2 separate regions of the Homo sapiens genome follow, and region 2 is linked to region 1. Evidence: promoter capture Hi-C in 16 types of primary human blood cells and fetal thymus (Javierre and others, 2016). All regions are on one chromosome and are shown on one strand. Each heading gives the region's core, a stretch centred on a gene start or on the middle of the fragment in contact. The rest is flanking DNA. Distances are from core to core; before and after follow the strand shown. Region 1 holds the start of LINC02907 (long intergenic non-protein coding RNA 2907). Region 2 overlaps COL5A1 (collagen type V alpha 1 chain).

The links. The method cuts DNA at HindIII sites, captures the fragments that hold promoters and counts their contacts. A CHiCAGO score of 5 or more calls a contact.
Region 2: a contact is called between a fragment that was not itself captured here and the fragment with the promoter of LINC02907 in region 1, in 1 of 17 cell types (monocytes). The highest score is 5.3, in monocytes.

The regions. Positions count from the first base shown.
Region 1 is chr9:135,341,111-135,345,488 of GRCh38, reverse strand. It overlaps LINC02907 (long intergenic non-protein coding RNA 2907), which reads right to left and starts at 2,240. Exons shown (of 3, transcript NR_171012.1): 1 at 2,018-2,240; 2 at 1,036-1,467; 3 at 1-195. RefSeq lists an enhancer at 2,487-3,199. The HindIII fragment of the contact is 15,144 bases long and covers 1-4,378 here.
Region 2 is chr9:134,767,261-134,771,638 of GRCh38, reverse strand. COL5A1 (collagen type V alpha 1 chain) reads right to left here. Exons shown (of 66, transcript NM_000093.5): 24 at 4,285-4,329; 25 at 3,176-3,229. LOC124902301 (a long non-coding RNA gene) reads left to right here. Exons shown (of 2, transcript XR_007061843.1): 2 at 1-1,010. Among named protein-coding and RNA genes, the nearest start is that of MIR3689C, 80 kb to the left of the region's middle. The HindIII fragment of the contact is 681 bases long and covers 910-1,590 here.

The DNA of each region.
Region 1 (4,378 bases), core at 991-3,490:
ACATCCACACGCAGGCATATGTATGCATGCACACACACCTACATGTGCAGACCCTCTAGCCTGAGAAGCCCAGGTCTTCCAGGCAGATGGTTGTGTGAGTTTCTCTCTCCCAGGACCAGGCAGACGCAGCATAGAAGCCCTGATCCGTCTGTTCCTAACCCAGCAAGTGACACACAATAGCCTCTCTGTGTGGCCCTGAGTGGAGATGAGATTCAAAAAGAAAAAAGCAGCTTTCAACTTCCTCTACGTGAAAGGTCATCGCCCCCTCCCCACGTGGGGGTGTCAGGCGATGAGGGAGCCTGGGAGCCCAAGCAGGCTCTCGACAGACAGCTGTCTCTCGCATGTGATGGTGCCGCCGTCTTTCTCACCAGCAGCACGACGCTGCAGGCTCTAGGGGCTGTGGGTAGAGACAGACGGCCTGTGCCCTTTACATCCTTCCAGCCAAGCCCGCTGCTGTACTCCAGATGCGGGCCTTGTTTGCCCTCCCCGCGTATCTCTGAGGTCCCCACGAATTGCTGTGTGGCATGAATGTGAGATCCCTGCCATGGTATCCAAAAGGCAAGCCTCTACTTACAGGAGGGATGAAGGCCCTGAGGGGTGGTGGGTGTCCCATCCCCCTGAGAGTTGGGGGTGCAGAGGGCCCCTCTGCACCTGACCTGCCACCTGGTGGTCACTGTGGTGAGAAAGGGGTCCTGGGACTTCAGGCCTGGGGTTTTGGGGTGAAGATGTCTTGTCTAGAGGCACCAGCTGCCCACAGCCCTGCAGCCACCCTGGCCGAGAGCAGATGATCCAGCGAGTCCTCAGGGGAACATTATCCTCTTTGCAAAATAACTGTGGAATTAGAGCTTGATGTGGGCTTAGCGGGTGCCCTGCAGTGTCTCAGTTCATTCCTACCCAGCAAAGTGGCTGACGTGAGAGCGGGGTCTGCACCGACAGCAGGACCTCCCTGTTCACCTGCTCCCGAGACCACCAGGGAGCCATGCTGTGGCTGTGGCTGAGGCTGAGGGTGGGGCAAGAACCCAAATGCACACAAACCTGCATCATCCGTCCAGCACTGGATCCCAGGGTCTCTCTAGACATTTTAAAAGATCTTTAAAAACAGGGAAGAAAGAAACCAACCCCATTGGGGCGGTGGCGGCTCCCTTAAACTTTCAGCGACTGCCATGAGAACAGAGATTTCGGTGGCTCCAAAGAACACAGGCTTATATTCCTTTGCTTTTCTTGAGGTTCTTATGCCGGAAAGATGCAGGTGTTGCCTGCCCTCTTGCCCTGTGAGGCTGTTCCTCAGCCGCCAGCCCAGGACTGGGCGTCCGGCCGTTCTGTCCACGCTGCAGCCCTGCTGTCCGCTAGATGGCGCTGCGTCATGCCCGTGGCGGGCCTGTCTGGAACCCAGGAAGGCCTGGCGGAGTTCCAGGAGGGTCTCTGGAGACCCAGGCGTCAGCACAGTGGCGGGGACGAGTCCCCTCCCTGGAGGGTGTGAGATCCCCTCATTGCCGGGCTCTGGGCACCCAGAGCACAGATTTTGTTCGCTCACTGCTGGAGAAGCATAGCCTGCCTGGGAAATGCCCCCTCCCCTCTGTGGAGCCGGGAGGTATGCATGCAGGCATGTGTGTGTGTACACGTGTGTGCACACGCCTGTGCCTGTGTGTGCCTTGTGCATTCTGTGCAAGGATGTGTGTGCATGCGCATGCATGCATGCACACACCTGCACACACTCCTGTGGCCGTGTGCTCTTGTGCATATGTGGGGGTTCTGTGTGTGTGTCTGGGGACAGGGAGGTATAGGAGGCAGCTCCCTTTAGCCCATTGGAGGCTAGCCCTGTGTATGTGCTGGACTCCAAGATGACAAAGACCTGCCCAGGTCTCAGCCTCAGCCTGTAACTGCTCTGAGCCTCCATTTACTCATCTGTAAAATTGAGATGCCCCAGTTACCTCCCAGGTGTGATGAGGCCCCATGGAGACCATGGGGCGAGAGGGCCCTCCCCACAGGCATGACGCAAAGTGACATCGATACACACCTGTGTTGTGGTCACGCACCTCCAGCAGCGGCCACAGGAAGGACACTGAGGTCTGCCCTGGGCTGAGGCCCATGGCATCCTGTTCATCATGGGGGTGCCACGGAATCCCCCATCCCACAGGGGAGGAGACGCAAGCTGAGAGGCGAAGCCACAAGCCTGACTCTGAGCCCAGGCTGTCGTCCCGGGCCGCGGTGCCCACACTGCCACTCAGCCCTGGCTGGAGATGCAGTGCTGAGGTGGGCAGGTGGCTCCACCAGCCCCATGAGGCTCAGTGGGACCTGGTGGAGGGTGGCACTGGCCTTGGAGAAGACTTGAGCCCAGCCTCTCTGTGCTGGCAGCTGGGAATGCTGAGAGGCAGGAGGAAGCTGGGGGGCACTTCCTGAGCCCCCACTGCATGGGGACAAAACCCAGGGATCCCTCCCCAGGCAGAGACCCCACCGGGCTCGATCACCAGACTTCTGGCTGTCAGCTGGCACAGAGGCCCAGCAGGGACAACCCCGGAGGAGGGGAATGTGTCATTGGGAGCCTGGGCAGCCATCAACTAGTCCTGGCCTAAACGTGGAGCACCTGGTGCCCGGCCCTTTGGCAGGGCCTTCCTTGGGGACAGAGGTGACTGCTGGTGCCTGGACCCAGGAAGCTCCCCCATCTCCCCAGGCCACCAGAGGCCCCGAGTCACTCCCGGGTGAAAACACAAATCCAGGCTGGGGCAGCTGACAGGTGGTTCCCAGGGAGGAACTGAGGGGTTGAGGGGCAGGAGAGGTGGGAGCTGGACACAGTGACTTCTGGGGCATCAGGCCTCGGCCATCTCCGAAGGAGGGCTCCCGGGAGGTGCACGTGGACAAGATTTCTGGACGAGATCAGGCTGCTTACCCGTCTGCCAAGGCCCTGCAGCTTGGGTGTCTTTGCGAACCTGTCAGTAATTGGGGTTGTGTCCAACAGCCTGTGCCAGGCTCCTTGGCGGGGCAGTCCTTGCAGCAGTCCTTGAAGGTCACCTCGAGAGCCAAGGCTGGGCAAAGCGATGGATCCATCAGGTGCAGGGGGAATGGTGTCTGGGGCCCACAAAGGTCACGATGTGGCCCCGCAGGTGCCAATGAGGGAGCCAGGGTCCAGCCACCTGTGCTTGCCAGCTGGGTGCCCTGGTACCAGGGGACGAGCTCCTTCTTGGTTTGCACAAAGGCTGGTGGGCCCCGTCCAGGAGCTGCTGCCCAACAGTGTGCTCTCGGATCCCTAGGACACGGGGGCCCCAGCTGCATGCTGTGCTCAGCCCCATCGGACACTGGGAGCCCCCTTCTATGGAACCAGAGCTCCCGAGGGGATGCTAGAAAAGTGTGGAGCTCTTTTCCTGGGCGCTGAGCCCCCTGTCCATGGTAGGAAAGAGGACAGTATTAGTGATGGGGATGCAGGGACACCTGTGGCTTCAGAGCATCAGCTTGGAGTGTCTGATTTAGTCATGAGACAGCCTCACCTGGGGAGAACTTTCTTCCCATTTTACAGAGGGGTAAATAGAGGCTGCTGTGGCGCCCTGCCCAGGAGCCCTGGCTGCTTCGAGGCTGAGGAAAGCAGGGAGGTGAGCAGCTCGGGGCCTGCCCTGCAGGTGCACCCGGACCCTGGGTGGGCCCTGCCACCCCGCACGCCTTCCCCAGAGCCCTCTGAGCCTTGGCCGGTGGGCGGACGGAGAAGGTTCTGAGGGGAGGAGTCTGGAAAGAGGGAGGGGCTTTGTGAGGGACCACAGGGGAAGTGGGGCTGAGCCTCTGCTGTCCTCAGCCTCTGCTGTCCTCAGCTGGGTCTCCCACCAGGTCCCTTCCACCCGCTGTGGCCTTGGCGTCCTTCTTGCTTGGGCCCCATGGGTCAGCTGTGGGTGCCTGGACACCCATAAGTGGCCATCCTGCCTGGGTCCCTGGACCTCTTGCCACCTCTCCCATCCCCACACACCTGCCACCATGCCAGCAGCCACTTTCTAGAGCCTTCCGTAGCAAATGAGTTCCTTCATCTCAAATTAGGTGCAGGGGGAATGGTGAGGCTTTCTATAAAAGCCTCTCTGCTGATGACGGCTTCCTGCACAAACAGACCTCCACTAGGGACTGGAGCGACAACCTCTCCCCGCTGAGCGCAGCCGGCGCGTCTCCCGTGGAGCCCACGTCTCCTGGGAACAGCCTCCTCCTCTGACAGACAGGGCCACAGAGCCAACTTGTTACAGTTTGCAGAGAGCCCGCTGCCCTCTGCCGCAGCTCAGTTGGGTGGGTGCCTGGGCCCCGGGCCACCCCTCTGGTGCTGGTCCTTGGCTCCTCTTTTTGCAAAATAGAAAGGAATTTCCAGAATCTCAGCAAAACTACACCGCAGCTTGGACTGTGGATTTGGGGT
Region 2 (4,378 bases), core at 1-2,500, 570 kb after region 1:
TAAGAAGACCCAAGTCTCGTTGCCTCAATTAAATGGTTCGTGTGTGACTTTTAAGTTTTTATTAGCTGTCCAATTGGGTTTGATGCCTTTGCAGACAGCCTATCCTAGCAGACAGCCTATCCTAGCAGCAAGTGAGTGGGAGGGCGCAAAGTTCCCCTTGAGGGAGGCTTTGAGGAAGTCCAGGCACCTGCGGGACCTCACCCGCTGCTCCAGCTGGGAGGGGACGTGCTTGGCCACCACGCCGCCTTCCGGAAACAAGGCTCATGGCGCCAGCACCTCAGAGTGGCCGGGCTGGACCTGAACAGAGCCAACTAGAGGGTGTCCTGGTCCAGGGTGGCCAGGAGGGGTTCTTTGTGGCCCTTTATTACACTTTCTATCAGCCACAGACACCTTTCTGTGAAGGACCTAGTGGGTGGATCTGCAGGGGGGCCGAGAGCCCGGCTCTGGACCGGGCAGACCCAGCCCCGGCTGCTCGAGGAAGCCCCCAGGCCTCTCCACGTGGTCATTTCCTCAGTTCCAGGCTGGAGATAACAGCACATCTGCACACAGCGCCGCTGCGGAGACGCACAGAGCGTTTGCAAGGGGCTCAGAACTGCGCCCACCCAGGGAGCACCAAGCAGAGTTAGCGGCCGGCATCACGGCGGCCTCCATTCCCATCCAGGCCAAATTCCTTTAGGTATATTTTCAGTTACAGATAGAGAATGAGAGTAAAGCAGTGGGGGGAAGCACAAAGCTCCCTTACTAAAAAATGTTTGAACAGGAAAAGGCAGAAAGGAAACGTAACAAGATAACCACGACTGATTTTCCTGCAAAGCCGGGCAGGGCCGCTTTCCCCTTTCTTTCTACTTGTGTGTGTTTCCCAATATTCTATAATGAGCAGTGCTTCTGTAATGGGAAAATAATAAAGCTTACATTATTTGTATTTGATATTTTCTGATTAAAAAAGTAACGTATGTTCATCATAGACAATTAGGCAACTGGAAGAGGAATTAAAATCCTTCATCACCTCACCACTCGGAGTGGCTGTGGCTAATTGTATGATAGAATCATCTGTCGTCTCTGCAGATATGCATGCGCCCTTGGCATGGTAGATCTATTTTTAATTTAATATTACATTGTGAGCATTTTTCTCATGTCACGGAGTATTTGTCTAAATTCAATTCTTACTGGCTCTGTAATATTCCACTGAGCCATAATTCACTTAACCATTTCCCCAGCGTGTGATACCAGGAATATATTCCACTGAGCCATAATTCACTTAGCCATTTCCCCAGCGTGTGCTATCAGGATTTATTCAACAACATATTTCTAGGCACTGAGTCTGCTCTGAAGTGCCTCATACCTCTTGATGGATTTTAAGGCAATCTTCCTTTCTTTGAAACCAAAACCAAAACAAGAAAAAAAGAAAACTCTCTCTGTAGGGTTTACCCTCAATGTGCTGCCTTTGCAAAGGAGAATTTTTAAACATCTTTTCTTTCCTCCAGATTTTCGTGGGAGATGGCTGGGGCTGTCTTTGGGCCTACCCTTTGCTTCCTTTTGCTCGAAGCACCTTCATGTGAATGGGGTCCACCTACGCTCACATTTTAAGCTTTAAATTCGGGCTGGGGAAGGGACACCTTAAAGGCCTTTCCTTCCCCCAAAGAATATAAAAGGAAACTGCAGGCTCTTTAGGGACCCCAATTCTTTGGAGGTTTCAACATGGGGAGGGGAATTCCAGGGAGAACAAGTTAGGTCAGCTGAGGGCCGAGAGAATGATCTTGGCAGGAAGGTGGGGTGCAGCCCCCTTCACACCCAGGCCCCCTTCCTCCCCGCAGAAGGAAAGAGGGGTGCAGCCACCTTCACACCCAGGCCCCCTTCCTCCCCGCAGAAGGAAAGAGGGGTACAGCCCACTTCACACCCAGGCCCCCCTTCCTCGTGTGGCCTGCTTCACACCCAGGTCCCCTTCCTCCCCGCAGGGCTCTGGGCCCAGCCACTGTCCCCACAGATTGCGGCCCATACTCCATGGACACCACAGCCAGCAGCACGGGAACAGAAAACTAGCCTGGAAGGACACACGTCCACCCGCTGTCAATGGCTAAATCAGGAGATGAGATCAAAGGTGGCTATAATTTTACTGTAATTTTATTTATTTTCCTAATTTTCTATAACAAGATGTGCTGTTCTGATCATTAGAAAGGGCAATGAAATATAAATGTAAATTAAAGGACACAACACATTGGAAAAGATGAACCACTCAGTATGCAAACTCCCATGTGGCCAGGTGACCACGGGGCCCCACAGCTGCGCGCGTGGGGATGAGAAGGCTCCACTCTGCTTCTTCTGACCAAGAAAGGGCAGTTTGTGATGTGGGAGTCACTGGGCCAACTGACTCGGCCTGAGGGATGCTGTGTGGTGAGCAGTCACCGATAATCATCAACATATTTAACTTCCTTGTTTAGTTTTTAACAGTGTTATTAAAACCATAAAGCATACTGCATCTTCAATAATTAATTCTGCTAATCTCGTTTGTGAAACAGACTCAGCATTAACGGAATAATCAAAACCAAAACCACAGCAGGCACTTACAGAGGGTGTGGGTGCAAATCAGCTCACACTCATGTACACGCACGTGTGCACGCACGCACGCATTCTGAGTGTGTTCTACTTCCTCACACCTCCCCCCTCCACACAGCTTAGACACAGATTGGATTTGTCACCAACTCGCTATTTCCAGGCAGAATCTAATTTGGCTCCACAGCTGTGCGCGCACACACTGCAAACGCGTTTGCTCACCACCTCCCTTCTCAGTGTGTGAACACTAAAAATACACACCACGTACCCTGCCTCTTCGCTTCCAACCCTGGGGACGCAAGCGATGGCCTGGAGCCCGGCCCAGCCCTCCTCACGGCTCAGCACGCAGGCCTGACTTCCGGTAATTAATCAGCACAACCTAATAAATAGCTAATATTCCTACTCGCGCAATCGCCACTCGTTGATTAAAATCCATGATGTTAAGGGTGTCCAGAACCCAAGAATGACCGAGCAGTCCAACTGGAGACCAAACGGGTCTTCATCAACAGAGCCAGAATGAGTCAATGCCGTCCAACAACAACCCCAAAGAGCCTGGGCCTGCAGCCCTATCCGCAGGGTGGAGGTGGGGAGAGTATGGAGGGATGAGGTGGGCAGGGCTACTCACCGGGGGTCCGTCAGCACCGGGCATTCCTGGAAGGCCTGGTTTCCCCAAGGGACCCTAGAACAAACCAGAGACTCCATGAGGAGATGCCCTCCCTAGGCTCACCTGACCTCTCCGTCGGCCACCAAGGTTACTTTTCAACATTTCTGCCCACACAGCATTTGCTGAGAAGTGTGGTCAGAGGCACTGGGTCCCTGGCTGTGAGGCGTGCAGCCACGGTAGCGCCCAGGAGGAGGCGGCTCCACTGTTCTCAGCACCTTCAGGTTCTGCTGTAGGAACGGAATCAGTCCACCAAGTGCCCCCATTCTTCTCCACATCCACCTGCTGCATACTGGGGCCCGGGGGGGCATCATCTGGCCTCCTCTGCTCTTACAGTGCTGTGCCTTCTTCAAGTGCTCCCACCACCCTGTCCTCCCTGGTCTGTTCACATCAACACCCCAGGGCAGGGCAGGGCATCCTGCAGTGCAAGGCCCACAGCCTCAGTATCCCATAAACAGCAGCTCCTGGAAGGTCCCAGGCCTGGCAGCAGCCCAGCCCTCTGTGTTTCTCAGGCCCCCCGGGGATTCTCATGCACTCAGAACCAGCCCCTTGGAGGTGTTTTTGCTGATCGCAACCAAGGCACTTGGAGCTACCTGAACTATCTTGTGCCTGGTTAAGCGACAAGCTCTAGAAGGGCAAGCACTTCCAGCTCTCGTTCCAGGGCCTAGGACACAGTAGGCTCTGGAGATACAGTCAAGTTGCCAAATTTAGCAAAACTAGACTAAACCAAAATAAACAACAACAAAACAAGATGCCCGGTTAAATTTGAATTTCAGATACACAATAGTTCAAATTTAACTGCATGTCCTGTATTTTTGTTCCTTGCTAAATCCAGCAACCCCTATACATACTAGAGAATGAATGAATGAATAAACGTATGAATCAATGAGACACGGATCCAAAATCCTCCTCATGCTTCTGGCCCAGTTCTTGGCACTCTGAGCTTTGGCGTCTCTTGGGAGCACCAAGATATACATTGAGAGCTGGTGGATACCAGGGGTCCTCCCAGGGTGGGGCCAGGGAATCCACCTGCAGGCGGGCAGTGGCCTGCAACACAGCCCAGGCCCACCTACCTTTTCTCCTGGAGGACCAATTGCACCCTGGGGGCCTGGAAGACCCTAAGAGGGAGAAAGAGCCAGAAAGGGAAGGTGAGGGCGCTGATTGACT